2 separate regions of the Homo sapiens genome follow, and region 2 is linked to region 1. The links are contacts of gene promoters, found by promoter capture Hi-C in human tissues and cell types (Jung and others, 2019). All regions are on one chromosome and are shown on one strand. Each heading gives the region's core, a stretch centred on a gene start or on the middle of the fragment in contact. The rest is flanking DNA. Distances are from core to core; before and after follow the strand shown.

What was found. The method cuts DNA at HindIII sites, captures the fragments that hold promoters and counts their contacts. A contact is called where the count stands out against the background at its distance.
Region 2: a contact is called between a fragment that was not itself captured here and the fragment with the promoter of DDI1 in region 1, in 2 of the 25 tissues and cell types used here (spleen and stomach).

What each region holds. Positions count from the first base shown.
Region 1 is chr11:104,031,723-104,038,088 of GRCh38, reverse strand. It overlaps DDI1 (DDI proteasomal shuttling factor 1), which reads right to left and starts at 1,449. Exons shown (of 1, transcript NM_001001711.3): 1 at 1-1,449. The coding sequence starts at 1,266. The coding sequence ends at 76. All of the region lies in intron 1 of PDGFD (platelet derived growth factor D), which reads left to right. The HindIII fragment of the contact is 14,414 bases long and covers 1-6,366 here.
Region 2 is chr11:103,944,365-103,950,703 of GRCh38, reverse strand. It overlaps PDGFD (platelet derived growth factor D), which reads left to right. Exons shown (of 7, transcript NM_025208.5): 4 at 2,980-3,042. Among named protein-coding and RNA genes, the nearest start is that of PDGFDDN, 41 kb to the right of the region's middle. The HindIII fragment of the contact is 3,092 bases long and covers 1,612-4,703 here.

The DNA of each region.
Region 1 (6,366 bases), core at 200-2,699:
TGCCAGTAAGCTCTTAACTTATAATTGCCGGGGACCTGAGGCTCCCTCAAGGTGGTAACATATTTATAACGTGCTTTAATGCTCTTTTCGTCCTGAATCCATGACTGAATGTGTAATTTCCTTGTCCGAAGACTCATCTTGCCCACTTACCATCCTAGAGCATAAGGGCAACTCTCCCTCAGGAAGAAAATAAGTCTGCGTGCCAGTGGTGCCGATGACCAGCACATTTTTCTTCAAATCGATGGAACATTGATGTCTCCGGAGCATATCTAGGCCTAGAAGCATATCCATGGGTTGATCCTCAAGTATGGAGAAAGAGCACTGTAAGAAATCACCTTCAATTTGAATCTGAGCTAGATGAACACGGCCAATAATTCTCTGTGTGCCCACTCCTTTAGCAACCCCAGCCCACCGTCGGTCCACCAGCCTCATGATGTTACATCGCTCGGCACAAGCCTGGCTCATAATGGTCATCTGGGCGCCCGAGTCAACAAAAGCCTTCAAAGGATGCCCATTCACTTTGCAGTTAATGTAGAGCATCGTCACTTGTCCAAAACTCTCGGGGGCCTCTTCTATCGCTATATTCATGTTTTCTTCAATGTTTTGCTGCCGGATTTCCTCTTCTATTTTGGCCTGAGCTTCCCGATCCAGTGGGTCGGCTGTGTAGAGACGAAGCCTCTCTTGCTCTCTCAAGGCCTTTTCCCTTTGCTGCTCCATCAGCACCTGAGAAAAGGTCTCAAGGCTTCCGCTGAGCAGGGCTTCCGCCAAGGGAGGGTTGCGTTCCTTGAGCAGGGACAGATCGTGGGGGTTGGAGAGCAGCATGCTGCGGATCAGGGCGGGGCTGCCCAGACCTTGCAGGCCGGCCACCTTCTCTCCTGACGCCAAGCCCTGTGACCGCTGGGCAGCGGGTGTGCGCTGCTGCTGCTGTCCAGGGTGCTGTGGACGGGAGCTGGACGTCCCAGGCACCGCAATGCCACTGAAGTCTACACGAGGCTGGTTCGGGGCACGCCCTGGAGCCCGAGGTCCCACATTGTCCTTCTGCAGTAAAACCACGATATCGCCATCTTTGAGGCCGTAGGAGCCCAGGGAACAGTGGTCCTCGATGAGGAGTCGCTCCATGTGGATGATCTGGATCTCTTCGACGGGGACTCTGGACTCCGCTTCGCAGAGGACCTTGAAGTTTCGGAGCTCAAAGTCGGGGCTGACCTGGAGAGAGAAGGTGACCTCGGAGAGGTCCCTCCGCACGCAGTACACGGTGATCAGCATGGCGGGGGCCCGGGCGGGCCGGGCTAGCAGAGGGCATGGGCGGCTCACTGGCGGGCTGGGGCGGGCCTGCGTCGTTGGTGCCGCTGCTCCTCAGGACTTGGTAGGTAGGGACCGTCCGGGCTCATTCACCTCTCAGAGAGGCGCGGACACTCATCTGTCTGGGGGCTGTCTCCCAGCCTCAGTGCCTGCTGTGTGGCCAGGTGGAGCCTTGAGGTAGCACGTTGTGTTCCAAAGTCCATTTCTAAGTGTGCTGTTTGGAACCTAGAATGCCTACTCCCATGGATACACGATGGCTCAAAGCTGTCAGGTTTCAAGGCCAGCCCTTCAAAGCCTATTTAACACATGATATGAAAGAAATGATTTCAACACATTTTTTTTTGAGACAGGATCTTATCCTGTCACCCAGGCTGGAGTACAGTGGCATAATCACAGCTCACTGTAGCCTCGACCTCGTAGGCTCAAGCAGTCCTCCTCTCTCAGCCTCCTGAAAAGCTGGAACTACAGGCACAGTCTACCATGCCCGGCTAATTGTTGTATTTTTTTTTAATAGATTTGGGGTCTCACTGTGTTGTCCGGGCTGGCCTCCAACTCCTGGGCTCAAGCAATCCCCCACACTTCGGCCTCCCAAAGTGCTGGAATTACAGGTGTGAGCCACCATGCCTAGTTTTTCAACACTTTCTAAACAGCATATTATCATTTGTTTTGTTCATTTTAGAGTTGTATTCTTTGTACTTTTGTTTTTTCCCCAAACAGTAAGGATTTGTTTCTTACATGGCAAGTACCATTCTATGTGCATAGTAGGAAAGTCAGATTTGGAGCCTGCCCTTGAGGAGCTCACATTTCTGGAAAGGGATAGACAGGTGAATGGGTAATCACAATACTAAAGGCAAAATCTTTTACAAAGACATGTTCAGGGTACTGCCTTTAGTATCACCAACAGAACAGAGGATATTTTCCTAAGGAGGAGACAAGCTGGATGTTGAAGGATGAGCATCTTCCAGGTGCAAAGTGGTCTCACTCCAAAGGAAAGCAGTTTCATGTTACAAAAGCAGGAATTTATGGCAAGGGCTGTTATTTCTAGAGAAAGATGAGACATTTTGTGCAATAAAAAAATTGTACATGACTTTGAATACCAGGATATGAAGCTGGAAAAAAATTAGTTGAGCCAATTGATGAAGTCATATGTGAATCTACGGAGTTTAAATATTAAATATTATCAATTAGCAAGAATTCCTCCTCCAAAAAAAAAAAAAAAAAAAAAGAAAAAGAAGTAAGGAAGGAAAGGAAAGGGAAAAGATTTGAAGCAGGTGTTTGTGATTTTTTTTTTTAAATTGACTTAAGGAAGAGGCTTCTTGCAACACATGGAGGACATAATGTGGCAGGAGGGCCAGTCAGGAGGCTTTTCCAGTGGTTCAAAGAGGGAGCTGTTGCTAGAGTGTGGAAAGTCAGGAGGCCCAAAGCCAAAGCAGTAGAGAATAAACATGTTTCTTGAGTAAAATGGACAGAGTGTGCATACCCCTTGGAGGTGGGGAGTGTAAAAAAGTGGAATGTGTGGATAACACAGAGGGTCTCTAAAATGGGATATAGGGTAGATGGGCCATTGCCTTGAAGGGGAATGAATGAATGAGTGAGATGAACCTTTGAGGTGACCCATTTGACATCAGTTCTGTAGGAAAATTCATTAAGGATGCCACCCTAGAGGCCAATATGCCTCTCTCTGACATTTGGGCACAGCCACCTTCTCCCTACTCTCCCCCACCCCCACTTACACACACACACATACAAGGCTGTCATGGTGAAAAGTCCTTCAAGGCAAATGATGATTGGGTAGAAATCCTTGCATGCCAGTTATTTTTCTCTATGTTTAATAAAGTGTTTTGCTGCCTGGCGCGGTGGCTCATGCCTGTAATCCCAGCAGTTTGGGAGGCCAGGGTGGGCGGATCAAGAGGTCAGGAGATCGAGACCATCCTGGCTAACATGGTGAAACCCTGTCTCTACTAAAAATACAAAAAATTAGCCAGGCGTTGTGGTGGGCGCCTGTAGTCCCAGCTACTCGGGAGGCTGAGGCAGGAGAATGGCATGAACCTTGGAGGTGGAGCTTGCAGTAAGCCGAGATTGCGCCAGTGCACTCCAGCCTGGGTGACAGAGCGAGACTCCATCTCAAAAAAAAAAAAAAAGTGTTTTGCACTGTGCAGAGCTCATGTTTCCCTGGCTTGGTACTCCCAGGTGTACCTACTTATGAACCAAGATAGTCGATATCCTCTGCCTAGTTTCACCCCCTTCTTTGAAGGGTTGTTAGAAGGCCTGCACTGTTACACCATTATTCCATTATGGAGAGAAGGAAGTCACATCAGCCTAAATAATTATTTTTTGGCTCCTGTTTCTCATGTATTTGTCTCAGATGGAAGACTATGTCTCGCTCACTGCTCTAATTATCATAATGTTTCTATACTCATATTTGCTTATATTAGAAATGTTGACTGAACGCCCAGTGTATGTGAAGCATGTGCTAAGTTCTAGGGAAACAGACGTGAATAATGTTAAATATAGGCTGTATTCTTAAAGGAGCTCACAGTCTAAATTAGAGCACATGCACACACACAAATTGAAGGGTAAAAAATACCACAGTAGTGGTATTCAGGAGAAATTAATAATATCTGAAGAAGAGATGAAGAAGATGGTGAGGGATGTTGGGGAGAGAAGACATCCTGAAAGAACTGGGTTTAGAAAGATGACAAGGAGTCAGCCATGCAGGGTGCGCCAGAGTGGAGACACAAAGGTGAGAAGGAAGATGACCTGACTTAGAGCTTTCAACTGGAAAGACAGTGTTTCATCATATAAGGATTATTTTTTAATTTTAAGAAAAAAAATCTAGCATTGTAATTTTCACCATTTTTACAGATGAATGAATGACCCTTTGACTCAATAATATTATGTTATGGTTCTTTGCACCCTGACAAGTTTATCAGAGATTACTAGTGCTTTCCCCTGAGTTTGGAAACAATTATCATGTGAGATGTCACATGCAAACTACTCTGCTAAAGAACAGATTGAGAAACCAGTAAGACTTTAATTCAGTTTTCCTTTATCTTTTTTCCCCAAATAGCTTTGTACAATTTGTTCTTAAAACCATAGCGAGGAGGATTATACTGGGGCTTTTGTTTTTTTTAATAGCAAATGAAATTATTTTTGTAGAATAAGCTTCCTTTTGTTTTTCATAAAGCAAAAATTGTGAGTTCACATGAAAAGAAACTAACATCTTTTTTTCTATACCATTGCCTTCATACTGAACATATTTAAATTCTATGTGATGTGTTTTATTATCTCACTGTAATTTTTTTACTTTGGGTGGCACTTTACATTTATTTGTTTTTCAGCATTTTACCTTTTACTGAGAACAGACACTGGAAAGCAAAAAGCCTCAAGGTCTGGCCAATGAGCTGTCATCATTTCATTGGTCACAGGATGTCAGGGTTGGCAGGGATCCCTTGGATTCCATAGTCCAGCCACCCATCCACCCCTTATATCTGTTGCAAAACAGCCTGGAATCTGTAAAGGTAAACACAGCCTCCTGTGTTTAGTACTTCTGTGTATACATCATTTGATTCTTTCATTTTACCCAGCATGATTTGTGATTCAAATACCATATGTATAATTGTCCCAACTCAGAATTTTAAATGAAAACCTCTTCTGACTGTATAATGAACTTGGAGGTAATTGGAAATATATATATATATAAAATATATTACACACACACACACACACACACACACCCCTAAACATAAACTGTTGTTATACCGTAAATCCCTATCATGTAGTCTGTTGAGAAATGGGTTATCTGAATTATTGAGGTATGTAAATCTAAGTAACTGAGGTTATCAAAACTTTTCTTGAGGAATTCTTTGTGAAGTATACTCCCTTACTTTTCTCCCTTAGTAAGTACAATATAAGAATATAATTAAATTTTTTTTGATAAGTGAGATTCCTGCAGAGTCTCCAGGCTATCACTCAGAAATCAATTCTAATTGTATGGCCTAAATGCCCAGAAAACAGAAGAGATGGTACTGATTTCATACTAACCAAGTAAATAACCCCAAAGTTATTTTTTTAATAAATCCACAATACCTTTTGTAATTTGCCTCTTTCTAAAAATGTAGCAAAAAAAAAAAAGAAAAAAATCCACATAACTGATGGTTTCAGTTATGATAGTCAGTTGATGTTTAAACTACTATCTCTTGCTGTACTAAGCAAAATAATTGTCTTTTTAGTGAAAAAAAATAGAATACCTACATAAATGTCACTATGTAACATATACAGTAATTAAACTATGTTAAATAAATACATTTGCTTGCTACATTGGGATTTCTTCCTTTAAGTATGTGCTTGTATTACCTTTAACGTGTAATCAAGACTTATTAAGAGAGTTAAATCATAACTTGAGATTTTCAGTGCAATTTAGAAAAGATGCAGAATTTTAAAAGCTGTACCCTTAGGTTAAATAACTAATGTTTTCATAATTCTTTTATTTGCTTTACAGTAATACAATAAATTGTGCCAGAACAGTCATGAGCAAATAACATGTATTTCTTTGGATAGTTATTTATTTATTTATTTATTCATTATTTTTGTTGTTGTTGTTGTATATATCTGTGTTTATTTCTTTTTAATTTATTTTAAGTTCTAGGGTACATGTGCAGGATGTGCAGGTTTGTTTCATGGGTAAACATGTGCCATGGTGGTTTGCATCACCTATCAACACATCACCTAGGTATTAAGCCCAGCATGCATTAACTATTTTTCCTCATGCTCTCCCCTGCCCTTGCCCTCTCCCGACAGACCCCAGTGAGTGTTGTTTCCCTCCCTGTGTCCATGTGTTCTCATTGTTCAGCTCCCACTTATAAATGAGAACATGAGACGTTTGGCTTTCTGTTCCTGTATGAGTTTGCTGAGGATAATGGCTTCCATATTCATCCATGTCCCTGCAAAGGACATGATCTCATTCTTTTTTATGGCTGCATAGTATTTCATGATGTATATGTACCACATTTCCTTTATCCAGTCTATCATTGTTGGGCATTTGGGTTGACTCCATGTCTTTGT
Region 2 (6,339 bases), core at 1,908-4,407, 89 kb after region 1:
AACCACACAGTTTCTACTTAGAAATGAGCTTTGGTGGCCTTAGCTTTGCCAGAAAATGGGTACATGATACAGAACACATCATCTATCTCTCTAAGCATTCATTTTCTTATTTATTTATTTATTTATTTATTTTTTCTTTTGAGACAGAGTTTCGCTCTTGTTGCCAAGGCTGGAGTGCAATGGTGCAATCTTGGCCCACTGCAACCTCCGCCTCCCAGGTTTAAAAATTCTCCTGCCTCAGCCTCCTGAGTAACTGGGATTACAGGTACATGCCACCACACCTGGCTAATTTTTTTTTTTTTTTTTTTTGTATTATTAGTAGAGATGAGTTTTCACCATGTTGGCCAGGCTGGTCTTGAACTCCTGACCTCAAGTGATCCACCTGCCTTGGCCTCCCAAAGTGCTGGGATTACAAGCGTGAGCCACCACTCCTGGCCAGTTTCCTTATTGTTTAAATAAGGAGATTGGACTAGATAATTCTAAAACTATTTCCAGTTCCAAGATTTTAAAACTGTCCCTCTTCTGATTTTAACACATGGTCAACATAACCCTTTACTTTGTTGAATTGCATTTTTGTGTTGATACTTCCCAAATCTATATCTCAAGGTCACATGTGGTCCATTCTCTCTCATGCGGTCCATTCTCATGTAGCAAACTTCCCCCCGAACATCTCCATCTGTACATAGTGTAGGCTTCTCAAACGCACTATGCCCAACATGACTCATAGTTTCCCCAGTAAGTTGTTTATTTTTCTGTATACTTTCCTCACCTTGTCTAAGCATTGCTTTCCCTTTGAGTCTTCTACCCGCGTTTTCTGCAAGAAGCAACTATTTATCTTCCAAGACTCTACTAACAAATCAGCTTCCTATGTGAAATTTTTTCAAGCCCACTTTCTCCCCAGGTACAACCACCTATTACTACCTTCCATGGCATGCTGAGTAGACTGGTATCAGAGCACCCACATGCGTTTACTGCACGTGTTTATTTGTGTGTTTACGTTTCGAATTCCTTGAGGGTAGGGATAGTTTTTATTTCCTCATGATCCTACCCACAGCTCAGAAAGTATTAATAGCAGGTGATTAACAAATATTGAATGAACAAGGGAAAATGAAAATTCTGTAATGTGAGGATTGCTCCTGTCATTACCATACCTGGCATATGTCCTCCACCAATAGTCTCATCAAGGAATGGAGAAGCCACTGGCTCTCTGGCTTCTTGCCTAGTCTTATGTGCTCACCGACTTATGAAGACTCATATAAATGCCAGCCTTCATTTGATTATACACATCTTCCCGCTGTGGGAATTCAGTGTCCTTTTAGTGTCTATTCTGTTTTGCAGAGTGCAGATACCACATTTCCTGCTTCTTTTCTATCTTCCCTAGGATTAAGATTAGAATAACGAGGCCGGGCCCAGTGGCTCATGCCTGTAATCCCAGCACTTTGGGGGGCCGAGGTGGGTAGATCACCTGAGGTCAATAGTTCAAGACCAGTCTGGCCAACATGGTGAAACTCCATCTCTACTAAAAATACAAAAATTAGCTGGGTGTGGTGGTGCACACCTGTAATCTCAGCTACTAGGAAGGCTGAGGCAGGAGAATTGCTTGAACCTGGGAGGCAGAGGTTGCAGTAAGCCAAGATCACGCCACTGCACACCAGCCTGGGTGACAGAGTGAGACTCGGTCTCAAAAAAAAAAAAAAAAAAAAAAAAAGTGACTAAAATAATGATGTCTAGTCGGTTTCTTTCTTTCTTTCTTTTTTTACTTTAAGTTCTGGGATACATGGTGGTTTGTTGCACCTATCAACCCATCATCTAGTCAGTTTCTAATATTTGTTCATTTTTTGAACCCCGCATTTGACTCGGTTCTCTCTCAGTAATCAGCTGAAATTTTATTAAACACAGGAAATTTATATATAAACCAGCCTCATCATAACCAATTAACAAATGTACTTCCAGCTCCTCAAAATGTTAATGAAATTTACACCTGATACTAAGCTCTCATTCAGTAGGTATACTTGGATAAATAAGCTGTCAGACTAGAGTGGCTGAACATTTCTCAGCATCCTCTCAAAACACCTCCCACTCCTCGGTAAGGCTGGAAAATATTTGCTAAAGTGATTTATTTTAGCAAGGTCAGAAAGCCATCTGTGGATTGTAAAAATGACAGAATTAGTTTTCCTTCCCTTAATGTTTTTTAAACTTCCTGGTGCTGTAGTAATTAACATGGAGGTCACATACAAATGGGAGACAAGTTTGCCTTTTAAGAGAAGTTTTTTCTGTGTGATCTATTGCTATCACACATCCACTAAGGCTTATCTGAGATAACTAATGTTTTCAAGTCTGCCCTTGACCTTCCTTCCCCAAATGGGCAGTACTTAGTCACTACCAGTCATTTTCTTCCCCTGCCATCCTTCCTTATATTTGTTGATATAGTCAGGAACAACCCCTTGGAAGTTAGTGTATCGTTGAAAAGATCACCAATATTTTGGACCAGGTCAGCAGGCAAGATTGAACATAATGCGTAACCTAGTTTAAACCAACTATATGTCAATAATGATAATTATTATTATTCTTTATCAAACACTTTATTCAGTGCCATTGGTAATTACATAATTAATGCATTTAATTCTTAAAACAGCCCTATAATGTAAGGATTCCATACTAGCTGAGGAAAGGAAGGACTGGAGGGGTTGTCAGTTGTCTGTGGTCACACAGCCAGTAGATGGCCAAGTTAAAATTTGCATTCCTTCCTGTGCCTTTTCCATTTCACCAGTACTTACAAGAAAATGTCCATGTCTTAAATGAGAAGGGTTCTTGAGGAGATGTGCTTAAGACAAATGGTGACCTGTTCAGCAGGAATATAGCCCTATGTCTGTTGTCACTTAGTTGGAAAAAGATTCAGAAGGCTGAGATGTTGAAACTGTGCACATAATGAATTGAACAGAGGTTTGACTGACTCACAGATGTTTCTTTGCCTTCCAGGAAGATTTCCAACCCGCAGCAGCTTCAGAGACCAACTGGGAATCTGTCACAAGCTCTATTTCAGTAAGTAATTTATTACTCTGTTGCCAGCAAAAGAAACGGATGGAACAGCTAAGGTCAACCCCAAAAGGACTTCACCTGCATTAAGGACCTGTGGCTTGATCAAAAGCTAGATCTCAAACAGGATGTGTTTCTCCATTTCATTCAGGTTACAATGGATTATGTCAGAAACCCTTTTCCCTGTCTGTCAGAAATGTTTCCAGGAACTGCCAGTATAGCATGGTAGGAACTCACACTAGGTAATAACTTAAATATTTTTCATTTTCAGAGCAGAGCATTCCAATTAAAGGTCTGTCCAAACATATCAAACATATCAAACTAGTTCATGGCCCACACTCAAGTGGGGAATTTCAAAATAGCTTTCGAATATTCCTGGGGAAGACGTTAACCTTTGCATTTTCAAGGGTCTTTTCAGACTTGAAAAATCCCAATGTTTACAGTAAGATAATAAGTGCAAATCAGGCATGTATTCTATTTTACTTGGATATAAAACATAACTCACCCTGAAGCTGTAAAATGGTTCATGCTCCAGTTTTTCTCTAAACTTAGTCATTTCTCAGTATTCAGTCTCCTTATCTACTTTGCACAGAAAGAACAGACCTTGTTTTCACCAATCCTATGTGTGGCACTTATGTAGCAATAAAATACAAGATAATAAATGCAGTTGTTTACTAAAAGGTCAAGAACATAGAGAAAGCTTGCCCATGGTTCTGAGTAGGTCCGTGTGGCTGAGTCAGAGTTGTTGTTTTTTTTCCTAAAATTGGTATGTTATCTTTTGCTCTCTGGAGGATTTTTTAAAAACTCTTTCATATGGCAGGATTCCCTCCACTATGAATTATGTGGCTATTTAATTCACCTGGTATGGATGCTGGACTAGAACCTCATCTGATCAAAAGATTGGAGAGATCTTTGACAGTGATAATAAGTGTTTTGTGTGCTTTCAACAGTCCAGAATACATGCTCTGAACCTAACTTGGTGTAGGCAATCATTATCAATTAGATGAAAGTCAACACAAGGCAGATATGCTGAAGAGGTGCTCAGGCTAAGCAGGAGGGTCACAGTAGAGGCTGATAACTCAAGGCAGACACCAGCAGTTTTTGCAACCTTGACTGAGGGTCATGGGATGCTGCAGCTTCTCAGGCACCTTCGACATGATAGCTCAGGGTTGTCTAATGATTCTTGCTCCAACCACAGAATTACAAGCCTTAAAGGACCTTCAACAAATTAAGAATAACCCAGGTCCTTTAAAAGAGAGGCATTGTCTCATCCTTTTGGAGTATCTGGGGAAGTTCCCTGGGTCCAAATCCACTGCAAAAGCTTCTCGTTTGAGTTTCAAGTCTAGGTGCTGCTTAACTCTCTTGTAAGACCAAGCTAGTTTCTTTACTCAGCACTCCATTGTTCAAGAACTTTCTGGAGCAGGAGCAGGGGTCATTGGACCTACCATTGACTTCTGTTTAAACCATACTTTGTTTTTGTTGAAAGTGGTTTTGCATTTCCAGAGCATTTCTTTTTTACAAATTGTTATCATTTTAAATTAATGCAGTTAACTTCAGAATTGATTTTTATAAATACGTGACAAAAGCTGAATGAAATCATATTTACTGTTCAGCTGAAGGAGACACATTAAATTAGTTCTTTTTCTCAAAAATAGTTTTAAAATATTTACCTCAGAAACCAAAATGTTCTTGTAGTCTTATTAGGTCACCTCATCATTCATAAATATTTCCTCAGCTGTCGTTGTTGTTTCTGTCAACTGCCCTAAATCAAAACTTGAAAACAGCAGTAAAGCTCATACATAGGGACATGTTTGCATTTTACCTATGGTTTGGATTGACTCTTCAGCCTCATGTTAGAAGAGATTAAATTTCCCCCTCCCTTCTAAGGGACTGAGAGTTCCCCACAGCTTTCTCTGAGAGAGATGTCTGTGTACACACTACATTCTAGGCACTGCTGGGAGCCACCCTGGAGAACTCCATGCAGCCACTTTCCCCAGAGCTGTCACAAGAAGCTTTCACTGGCGTGGGAATGACTTGATCGGTGTCCCTGTTTTTATTTCAAAAATGAGGGAAGCATTTTAATTTCAAAGATTTTTTATGTGCTGCCATGCTTCTAATTTCGTCAGCTCATTTTGAGTTTTGTGGTTCTTAGAACCACACTATTGTGACACAAGGCTGCTTGTAAACCATCTGGTGCATGTTAGCCAGATAGACTGTAGATTATCCGACAATACAAGTTAATGGCGATTTGGAATTATAGTCCTGAATTATAAGTCTTCCACCTCTAGCATGTGACCTCAAGAGAGATGTGAAAGACAGAAATGATGTGTGTCAGTCAGGGTTCAGCTCGTATCAAGCAGACACACACAGACACAGACACCCACACACAGTCACGTAGATTAAAGGGACAACCTATCAGAAACAGAAGGAACAAATATGGCTGCACCCAGATGAGAGCTATATAATATCAACAATATGACTGTAGAGGACATCTTTAACATGGCTTGAACTGTGATTAAATCTCTGGATTCTTCCGTAATGTATGACAAAGACCGTGCCTCCAGATAAATGATCATTATTACCTGGATACACCTGAACAGAATACAGAGTGGACTCATAAGGTAATGAATGTAGCATGGCAGGAAAGGTTTGTTCAGAACTTATTTTAACAAGGATGACTGAAAATTAGATGTATGGTTTCTTGTAAAAGAAAAAAAAAATGGAGCTGGCCTGACACATTCATCGGTCTATTTCACCCTCTCACCCAACTCCCTTGACTCCCTTTTCCCTACAGGGAATATTTGAAAACTGCTCCTGAGTTATACCAATGGTAGATTAATGCTTTAAAGCCTCTTACTTGTGTGAAGAGGGACTGTTACTCTGAGAGCAGATGATCATCAAATCACTTAGCAACCTTTGGACCTTGATTGGTTAAAGAGAGACAACATTGCCTGAGAGTAAGGTTATAAATTGTGGGCTTGGCTGTCTGGGACTCAATAGCACATAATTTTTCTTGATTAGATACTACAGTCAAATCTTAGGAAAGCAAGTTTTCATTAATTCCTATTTTCCCTTAGTGATAGGAGATATTTGCCTTTGGGGAATCTTATTTGTTTGGTAGTTTCTTTAAAGACATTTAAAAATCATTTGAGGCTGTATGCTCTCTATTTCCTTGTTAATGGGTCATGAATTTTAACAGAGATGTTTGAATCATGGCTCATTTACCTCTAGATTGTACAAGGGTTAGTGAAGTAAGTGCTTGGAAACCTCATGTGCCATGTATTCCATGGCAAAATACATAAT